Regions from separate parts of the Homo sapiens genome. Here regions 1 and 3 are each linked to region 2. The links are contacts of gene promoters, found by promoter capture Hi-C in blood cells and fetal thymus (Javierre and others, 2016). All regions are on one chromosome and are shown on one strand. The core of a region is centred on a gene start or on the middle of the fragment in contact, and the rest is flanking DNA. Distances in the headings are between cores, read along the strand shown.

Evidence for each region. Contacts are between HindIII fragments. The CHiCAGO score rates a contact against its expected background, and 5 or more counts as called.
Region 1: a contact is called between a fragment that was not itself captured here and the fragment with the promoter of DIMT1 in region 2, in 3 of 17 cell types (total CD4 T cells, naive CD8 T cells and fetal thymus). The highest score is 15.5, in total CD4 T cells.
Region 3: a contact is called between a fragment that was not itself captured here and the fragment with the promoter of DIMT1 in region 2, in 1 of 17 cell types (activated CD4 T cells). The highest score is 6.1, in activated CD4 T cells.

Annotation. Positions count from the first base shown.
Region 1 is chr5:73,500,304-73,503,058 of GRCh38, forward strand. It overlaps BTF3 (basic transcription factor 3), which reads left to right. Exons shown (of 6, transcript NM_001037637.2): 3 at 2,185-2,298; 4 at 2,613-2,755. Among named protein-coding and RNA genes, the nearest start is that of BTF3, 3.2 kb to the left of the region's middle. The HindIII fragment of the contact is 3,225 bases long and covers 1-2,755 here.
Region 2 is chr5:62,402,503-62,405,683 of GRCh38, forward strand. It overlaps DIMT1 (DIM1 rRNA methyltransferase and ribosome maturation factor), which reads right to left and starts at 1,403. Exons shown (of 12, transcript NM_014473.4): 1 at 1,192-1,403; 2 at 771-844. The coding sequence starts at 1,270. RefSeq lists an enhancer at 1,324-1,613. The HindIII fragment of the contact is 1,140 bases long and covers 603-1,742 here.
Region 3 is chr5:72,840,428-72,843,258 of GRCh38, forward strand. The region is part of intron 1 of TNPO1 (transportin 1); the gene reads left to right. Among named protein-coding and RNA genes, the nearest start is that of TNPO1, 25 kb to the left of the region's middle. The HindIII fragment of the contact is 2,189 bases long and covers 231-2,419 here.

The sequences.
Region 1 (2,755 bases), core at 57-2,556, about 11 Mb after region 2:
GTCTCAGTGTTTGGATGCTCTTATATTGGTGTTTTTAACCACTCTTACTTTCAGTACAGTTTCAGAAGGAGTAATTTGAATAATGTGCTTATGTGCAGTCTTTTTGTTGTTACTCTCATCATTAGGCTTTAACTTTGGGAGACATCATTTTAGGGTAAAGGAAATCTTGAGATTTGCTAGGATATTTAAAGCTGATAACAAGATTAAATTTTGTGTCCTAACATCTTAATACTCGTTTAGCTAATAATACAAGAAGTATTTCTGTAGTCACAATATGGAAACATTTCTACACTGTTTAAGAAACGTACTTATTATGGGATGTGAAATTAGGTGAGTTAATTTTGCTTTAGAGAAAACTGCAGGTGTTAGGTGCTCTTAGGTAAATGTTACAAAAGCCCTTTATTTTCATATCTAATCACAGCATTAATAATAATTATTTAAGTGAAAATTGAACTCTACATATGTGAAGTGTATGAAACCTCTAGAAAGTATGCTGGGTTTGTCTTTACAATCTTAGAAATTCCTTTGAGTTTCTTAGAGAAGATTTCTTTGGAAACCAGATACATACATGACCATTTCAAAGTGATTTTTGTACTTAATAGTTTGGAGAGGTTAGTAACCAGTACTTTTTTTTTTTTTTTGTAGCCATAGATATTTTCTTCAGTTAAATAACAAGATTTATTTAAGCCTTTACTATGTTGGATCCTGAGAATATAAAATTTTAAGAAGTTTAAAGTCCCTAGGTGGGCTTTAAGCCTAGCAGTGGCGATAATTGTCTTTTCTTAAAAAAATCTTCTTTCACAGTGTAATATACATAGTACAATAGTAGAAGCATTTTCAAAATCTAGAGATGGGAATGATTTGGCATAGGGAAAGGGGGTAATTGCAGAATTTAGGAAAGGCAAACAGGAGGTAATGACTTGAATAAGATTTTAAAGGATGAATAGGAATAGGGATGGAGGTTGGGGGACGGTGAGGTGGTTGGGTGTGATAGACTTTCCTTGAGTGCCTTCAGTGAGCTAGATACTGTTGTAGATACTGGGTTTATAGCAATAAACAGAAGTCCTTATGGAGCTTACATTCTAGGGAGAGGAGATGGATGATAAAATGTATTTATCTCTTATAGTAATAAGTGTTATGAAGAGAAATAAACCAGGATAGAAAGAAATTGATGAGTGAGTGTGGAAGTTGCTATTTTACTTTGGGTAGTTGAGAAAGACCACTTTGATCAGGTGACATAAGAGTAGAGATCTGCAGTGAGGGAAAGAGCCATGTAGATGTTCCGGAAGGAGAGGAACAGCATGTGCAAAGGCCCTTGGGTCATAGCCTGCTTGGCCTGTTCAAAGAATAGCCAAGGTTTATTGGCTAAAGAAGAGGGATGGTAGCAGATGCAGTCAGGAGTGGCATATTAAGGGCAGGACAGTTTGTGTAGGGCTCTTGTAAGTTAAGGTAAGGGCTTCAGACTTTACTATCGAGTCCTATAGAAGTCTATATACAGATTCATTTGATTGTTCCATACACTGTCTTGCCTGTAAATATTAATTTGGATGTTGATTTTTATTTAATATAAAAACAGAAAAGGGGTCAGGCGCGGTGGCTCACACTTGTAGTCCCAACACTTTGGGAGGCCGAGGCAGGCGGATCACTTGACGCCAGCAGTTTGAGACCAGCCTGGCCAACATGGTGAAACCCCATCTCTGCTAAAAATACAAAAATTAACCAGGCATGGTGGTGCCTGTAATCCCAGCTACTCGGGAGGCTGAGGCAGGAGAATCACTTGAACCTGGGAGGCGGAGGTTGCAGTGAGCCGAGATTGCGCCACTCCAGCCTGGACGACACAGTGAGACCCTGTCTCAAAAAAAAAAAAAAAAAAAAACAGAAGAGGTTAATAATTCTGGATGTGGAATTCTTTCAAATGCTTAATTTAGATTGACACATGCTACCTCTTTGATCACTTTTAGAGCAAATGTAAAAAGTAGAACTTTGAAAAGATCATTCTTTTCCTTTCCCATTTTTTGCTTCTATCTTCGCCTTAGCCTGCCTGCTCACTGCATAAGTTTATGATTATGGTAATGTTCTTATACAGATCCAAAGGTCAGAAATGAATTGGAAACTATTCCCATTTGAAAAATATCTGTTGTGGTATAAATGTGCTGTTTTCTTTCCTCTTCTCCCTGACTTTAGGGAACTGCTCGCAGAAAGAAGAAGGTGGTTCATAGAACAGCCACAGCAGATGACAAAAAACTTCAGTTCTCCTTAAAGAAGTTAGGGGTAAACAATATCTCTGGTATTGAAGAGGCAAGTATCAAATTTTGTTACTTTAAAAAACAAGATTTGGCTGGGAAAAGTTAACGTTAATGCATTAAATGGGTTGTTTTTTTTTTTTTTAACTTAGGGACTTCAAAGTCCCTAAGATGTGTTTCTACCATAAATTAATAAATATCAGGGAGCTCATTAAGTCTGAATGCTATTAGAATACATATTCCATTCCAGGCAAAATTTCACCTGTGCTTCACAGTGAAATACTAGTTAGCCAGACTTAGTTTAATAAAACATTTGTTTTTAAAGAGACTGGTCAGCATTGCTAATTTAAATTTTTCTTTTCTTAATAGGTGAATATGTTTACAAACCAAGGAACAGTGATCCACTTTAACAACCCTAAAGTTCAGGCATCTCTGGCAGCGAACACTTTCACCATTACAGGCCATGCTGAGACAAAGCAGCTGACAGAAATGCTACCCAGCATCTTAAACCA
Region 2 (3,181 bases), core at 153-2,652:
CCCATGTATGGTTTCAAGGATGCAGAAGAGCAGAAACTGTACACAAAATTGAATGTCTGCACACAGCTCTAATATTCTACGGCCATAGCTTTCATCAGATGCTCAAAGGAAACTATGAGCTAAAAAGGTTAAAATAGTACATGACCCTTCTTTCTTTTTTTCTCAGTTTTCAAATGACACGAAGCCTGACAAGATCCTTTAACTATGTAATGCTCTTTCTACAGCTCCAGGATGCTTTCCTTGCTTTTAACCATAAGTGTAATCTGCACCGTGTGTATTTCACTTCCTAACACCCAATCATCCATAACCATAAGAGAACATCAATAACTCAGAAAGCAGTAATACTCCAAGCAATTTATATGTGGTACTAGCATACACCAAATAATTTATATGTAGTACTATATGTTTTTCTGGGGAACAAACTTTCTAATGTGTAGTTTAGACATAAATAGATGGAGTACATAAAAACTAAGTGATCAAAAAGGTGATTAGAAATAGAAGAATAATTATCTTGAACAAATACAAAGGTCCAGCTATAAAGTAGATAATCCACAAAAAGACACAGAATTGGGAACCAGGAGAAACTCAGACCCACAAAATGAAGCTTATCATGCAGAAGACAGCCCAAGAATCCTAGACAATTATTTGATTCATTCAACAAATATTTACAGAGCATCTAATTTACGGCAGGCAGACTTTCTGCGCTTATGTATTCATAGGAATAAAATTAATAAACCAACAACTCTCTCCCTTTCCTCTTCCACACCCACCTTATCGATAATGCTGTTAATAATGAGAGGATTTTTCAAAATGTGCTGCCCAATCCCCGTGTTGAACATGAGTCCTGTAAGAAAATACGAAACAGCATTAATTTTCCTACTGAGATTAGATATTAGGCAGTACCAGAGAAGAAAGCTGCATGGGTATGGGGAAGATTTCTGCGCCAACCAGGGCCACGAAACGTCACGCCAGGACTGACAAACTCTTTATAAGTTCATCCTCCAGCTGGAAAGGAAGTCAGCGGCGACGCGCAGGGCCTGCGGCCGAGTCGGGGACCCACCCCTGCCTTCCGCGCTCACGGGAGCGCGTCCTGACCGGCCTCTGCCGATCAGGTCTTGGTCCGCACCCCAGGCTAGGTCCTGCCGGAAGACCTGACCCGACCGACCCCAGCTTCCTCGCGGGGATCCGCACCTCCAGCGCTCTTCAGCTCCCGGCGCTGCTCCTGCCGCCCGCGGCGGCGGCCGATGGCCCCCGACTTGACCTTCGGCATCTCGGCAGAAAGCGGGCCCACAGGCCCGGGACGTCAAGGAGGACCAAAGAGGGCTAGCGTGAGAAAGCCACCACGTGGGGATCGCCGCCACGCGCCGCCCGCACCACTCTGGCCCAAGCGCCGGAGGGGCAAGGGTCCGCCCCCTCCCGTACGCTCTGAGCTCCTCCTCCAGAAAAAGGGCGGACCTTGGAGCCCACTGACTGCCGGGAATTGGAGTCACAGAGGGAGGAAGGCCGAACCGCGGGAGCCTACAGATCCCAGAAGACACCGCGCTACCGAGGACTGCAGTCTGGAGTTGGAGCCCTTGTCCCAACCAGGGCTGGATAAGAAGGTGTTGGTGTGGTGCTCTCGGTGTTGCGAAGGCTGTTTAAGTTATATGATGAGGTTAAGCCTATGGATGTTTTAGTAGCCTAGGTTCTGGGATCGCTGAGGTCCAAAGAAGTATTCACGTGCCTCGCTCCTGTTTTCCTGAAGCTTGTGGGGGTGGGAAACCCGGGATTTGGGGATGAGCTTGCTCTTTTGTGGGAATGCATTTTTTGCTGCTTGCCCTGGGGAAAAGAACTGCGAGAATGGAATTAACGTCTGGTTTCGCTAGGGCTACTGGTTGCTTCTACTAAGAATAGAAGAGCCGGGCGCGGAGGCTCACGCCTGTAATCCCAGCACTCTGGGAGGCAGAGGCGGGCGGATCACAAGGTCAGGAGATCGAGACCATCCTGGCTAACACGGGGAAACCCCGTCTCTACTAAAAATACAAAAAATTAGCCGGGCGTGGTGGTGGGCGCCTGTAGTCTCAGCTACTTGGGAGACTGAGGCAGGAGAGTGGCGTGAACCCAGGAGGCGGAGGTTGCAGTGAGCCGAGATCGCGCTACTGCACTCCAGCCTGGGCGGCAGAGCGAGACTCCGTCTCAAAAAAAAAAAAAAAAAAAAAGGAATAGAAGAATAATTATCTTAAACAGATACAAAGCTCCAGCTACAAAGTAGATAATCCACAAAAAGACAGAATTGAGAACCAGGAGAAACTCAGACCCACAGAATGAAGCTTATCGTGCAGAAGACAGCCCGTGAATCCTAGAAAATTATTTGATTCATTTAACAAATAATTCAACAAATTCCTTTTGTGCCTCATCATTCACTCCGTAAACATTTATTGAGCTCCAACTGTGTATCAAACACTGCTAGGGATTCTAAGTAAGAAACTTATTTCAAAGTGTATTATATTGACAGAGATGGACAGAAACTCCAAAACGCTGTAAATACGATAACGTATTGGTCGTTGTGACAGGACAGTGTACCTGACTATAAACTCCGTGTGTACCAGGGCCATAATATCCACATCTGTTTTGCCAGCCAGTGTAATGGCTCTTTTAAATTTTTCTGTGTGTATTCTGTTTGGTTGAAGAAATAGCTTCTTCCTGTCATTACTAAAGCTAACTCTCTTTTGAGCAATTCATTGTGTACATTCCCAAACCTTGGTCTTAGGCCCTTCTTTCTTTGATGTAGTTCTAAGTCAGAAAAAAAATCTCGTATACCCTAGTAGCATCTTCAAGTATATGTTTCATTTCATCAATCATTGTTATTCCACAATTCTAAAGAGTACACTGTGCTAGGCACTTCCAAATGTTAATAGGATGGACATGGCCTGGAGAGGTGGCTCATGCCTGTAATCCCAGCACTTTGAGAGGCCAAGGCGAGCGGATCACTTGAGCTGAGAAGTTTGAGATCAACCTGGGCAACAAAGTGAGACCCCGTCTCTACAAAAAATACAAAAATTAGCCAGGCGTGGTGGTGCAGGCCTGTAGTCTCAGCTACTCGGGAAGCTGAGGTGGGAGCCTCACTTGAGCCCGAGAATTTGTAGTGAGCCAAGATTGCACCAACCTGGGCGACAGCATGATACCCTGTTTAAAAAAAAAA
Region 3 (2,831 bases), core at 75-2,574, about 10 Mb after region 2:
TGATAACAGGGTTGCTGTTATTAGTAGGCATGGTTCAGACTTTGGAATCACACAGGTTTGGTTTTGAATGCCTAATCTGCCACATACTAGCTGGGCAAGCTACTTAACCTCTCTGAACCTCGGTTAATATAAAATGGAGTTAACATCTACCTCATAGTGCTGTTGTGAATATTAAATGGGCTAAAGTATAGGAAGTGTCTGGTTATAGATTGGGTCAAATTTTGAGATCAAGCTTTCCTTCTTATCACTCAATTTGATACCACACTCTTTTTTTTAATGTTGATTTGTAAACTTTAACTAGCATTTAGTAAGCATGTCTAGTCATCTTCAAAGTTCTTCCAGAAAAGACACTCTAAGCATACATTTATTCAAACTTTCCTTAGTACCTATTTTCCATTTTCTGTGTTCTGTTAATCTCTAAACTCCTAGATGACAATAACTTTGTAATGCCAGAAAGTTAAAATTTTAACGTCTTAGCCTATTTTCAAGTGGTGAACTAGATGATTTACCCATCAGTCTCAATCGAGGATGATTTAAACCCCATGTGCCTAGCACTGTGTAACATGAGTTATGGTCCCTGTCCTTCTAATCTAGTTGAGCTCATTTCCGTAACTAATATGAGCTCAACAGTTAGTTTTGCATTTTTTTCTCTTCCTTCTTGATCCATAACCTCTGGTTTTAGACTCTCTCTCTTTTTTTTTTTTTTTTTGGAGACCGAATTTCCCTCTTGTTGCCCAGGCTGGAGTGCAATGGCACAATCTTGGCTCACTGCAAGCTCCACCTCCTTGGTTCAAGAGATTCTCCTGCCTCAGCCTCCCTAGTAGGGATTACAGGCGCCCGCTACCACACCCAGCTAATGTTTTGTATTTTTAGTAGAGATGGGGTTTCACCATGTTGGCCAGGCTGGTCTCGAACTCCTGACCTCAGGCGATCCACCCGCCTCAGCCTCCCAAAGTGCTGGAATACAGGCGTGAGCCACCGCGCCCGGCTCATTATAGACTTTTTTTTCCACCTCCCAGGTTCAAGCAATTCTCATGCCTCAGCCTCCTAAGTAGCTGAGATTACAGGGGCATGCCACCACGCCTGGCTAATTTTTGTATTTTTTTAGTAGAGACGGGGTTTCACCAGGTCTCGAACTCATGACCTTGTGATCCGCCCGCCTCGGCTTCCCAAAGTGCTGGGATTACAGGAATGAGCCACCGCGCCCAGCCTATAGACTTTCTTAAAGGACTTTCTAGTTCCACTGATAGCTATAATTTAACAAGTTTGTCAACGTTTTGATTCATCATTAGGTGCCTGTAAACTTTTCCTTCTTTCCCTTCATACCTGAACTTTGGTTCAATTTCTCATGAAAGTTTTATTAAATAATTGTATTCTTTAAATAGCATGCTCTTTTTAGATCATTGGATAGCTCTGATTTTTTTTCTCCTTGCTCATCATAGCATTTTTCTGTAAAAAAAAAAAACAGTATAAGAGAGATTTTCTGTGGAAGTCTACATATCTGATTCACATTCAGCAAATGATTCAGCAAATTTCTTAAGCTGTTTTGATTTATCTGCTTGTCAAATAAAAATAATACTTGCTACCTACTTACAACAGAGGGGTGTTGTGAAGATTATATTTAGAATGTTTTTAACTCATTTACTCAATGCTATGAGAATACCTCATTTTTATTATATTGTCATACTATATACATACTACTGGTTTTTTAGATCTATTATGACTTTTATGATGGTGAAGTGTGATTTTACTTTTCTCTTTTACCTCACCACAAAGGTATCAAAATATATGTTCTTTCGTATGCACATGGTTGTATTTATGAGTAGTTTCCCAGTTTATGGAGATTGATGTTTCTTTTGGAAAGGCAGTATATCAGGGGCTTCCAGACTGGACACTGGAGCCAGATTAGTTGGGTTTGAATCATGGCTTTGGCATTTACTAGCTGACCAACCTTAGGCAAGTAACTTCTCTGTGCCTCAATGTACTTATTTGTAAAATGTAATTAATAGAGCAGCATCATAGAGTTGTGAAGTGCTTAGAACACTGCTTGGCACTCAAAAATATTAGCTATCACTATTACTAACAAAATAGTGCATGTGTTTAAGTCTTCAATATTTAAGTACCAGAGTTTTTGGTAGCATCTTGGCTCTCTGTGAAACAGGACTGCCCTTCCCCTAACAAACTGGAATTCCATTTTATATGCAGATTGGACAGTTAGGTCTTCCTATGGCTCCTCCTGCCCTCATTGCAAACTGATGGGTTTTAAAAATCATTTTTATTGAAATATGACACATTCTAAAAATTAACCTAATATTAAAGCTATAGAACAAAAGATGAACCTCTCCTTCCCCATGTCTAGGAGGATTAATTCTTTTCCAGACTTTGATCATGTTTTTTATCAATTTAAACCCCTTTCACAAGCTTTGTATTATCCTTAAGATAGTCCAAGCTTCTTAACATCATCTATGAGGTCCTCCTAGCCTCACTTTTGCTTTTTGATAATTCCTGTTAGATTTCTGATAAAGAGTCACTTCCTCAAGGAAGTCCTTTCTTGACCTCCTAACTGGGTTAGCATAATGTTTTCACAGCCCTTAGTCATTTACCATAGTCATTCTCCACTGAGGCAGTGCTGCTCTCTGGAGGTGTCCTAGTGACTGGGAGGTGCTCTTGTCATTTACTGGGCAGGGCTGAGAGTGCTAGATGTTCACCATGAAGAATTGTCCTAGCTTTGTATGACTTGTAAATGTCTTGTTAGATAGTCACAAAGGTGTAAGAAATCTGTTTATAGATATCAGAGCCAAGAGCCTAACTCAATTTTACATATACATGTG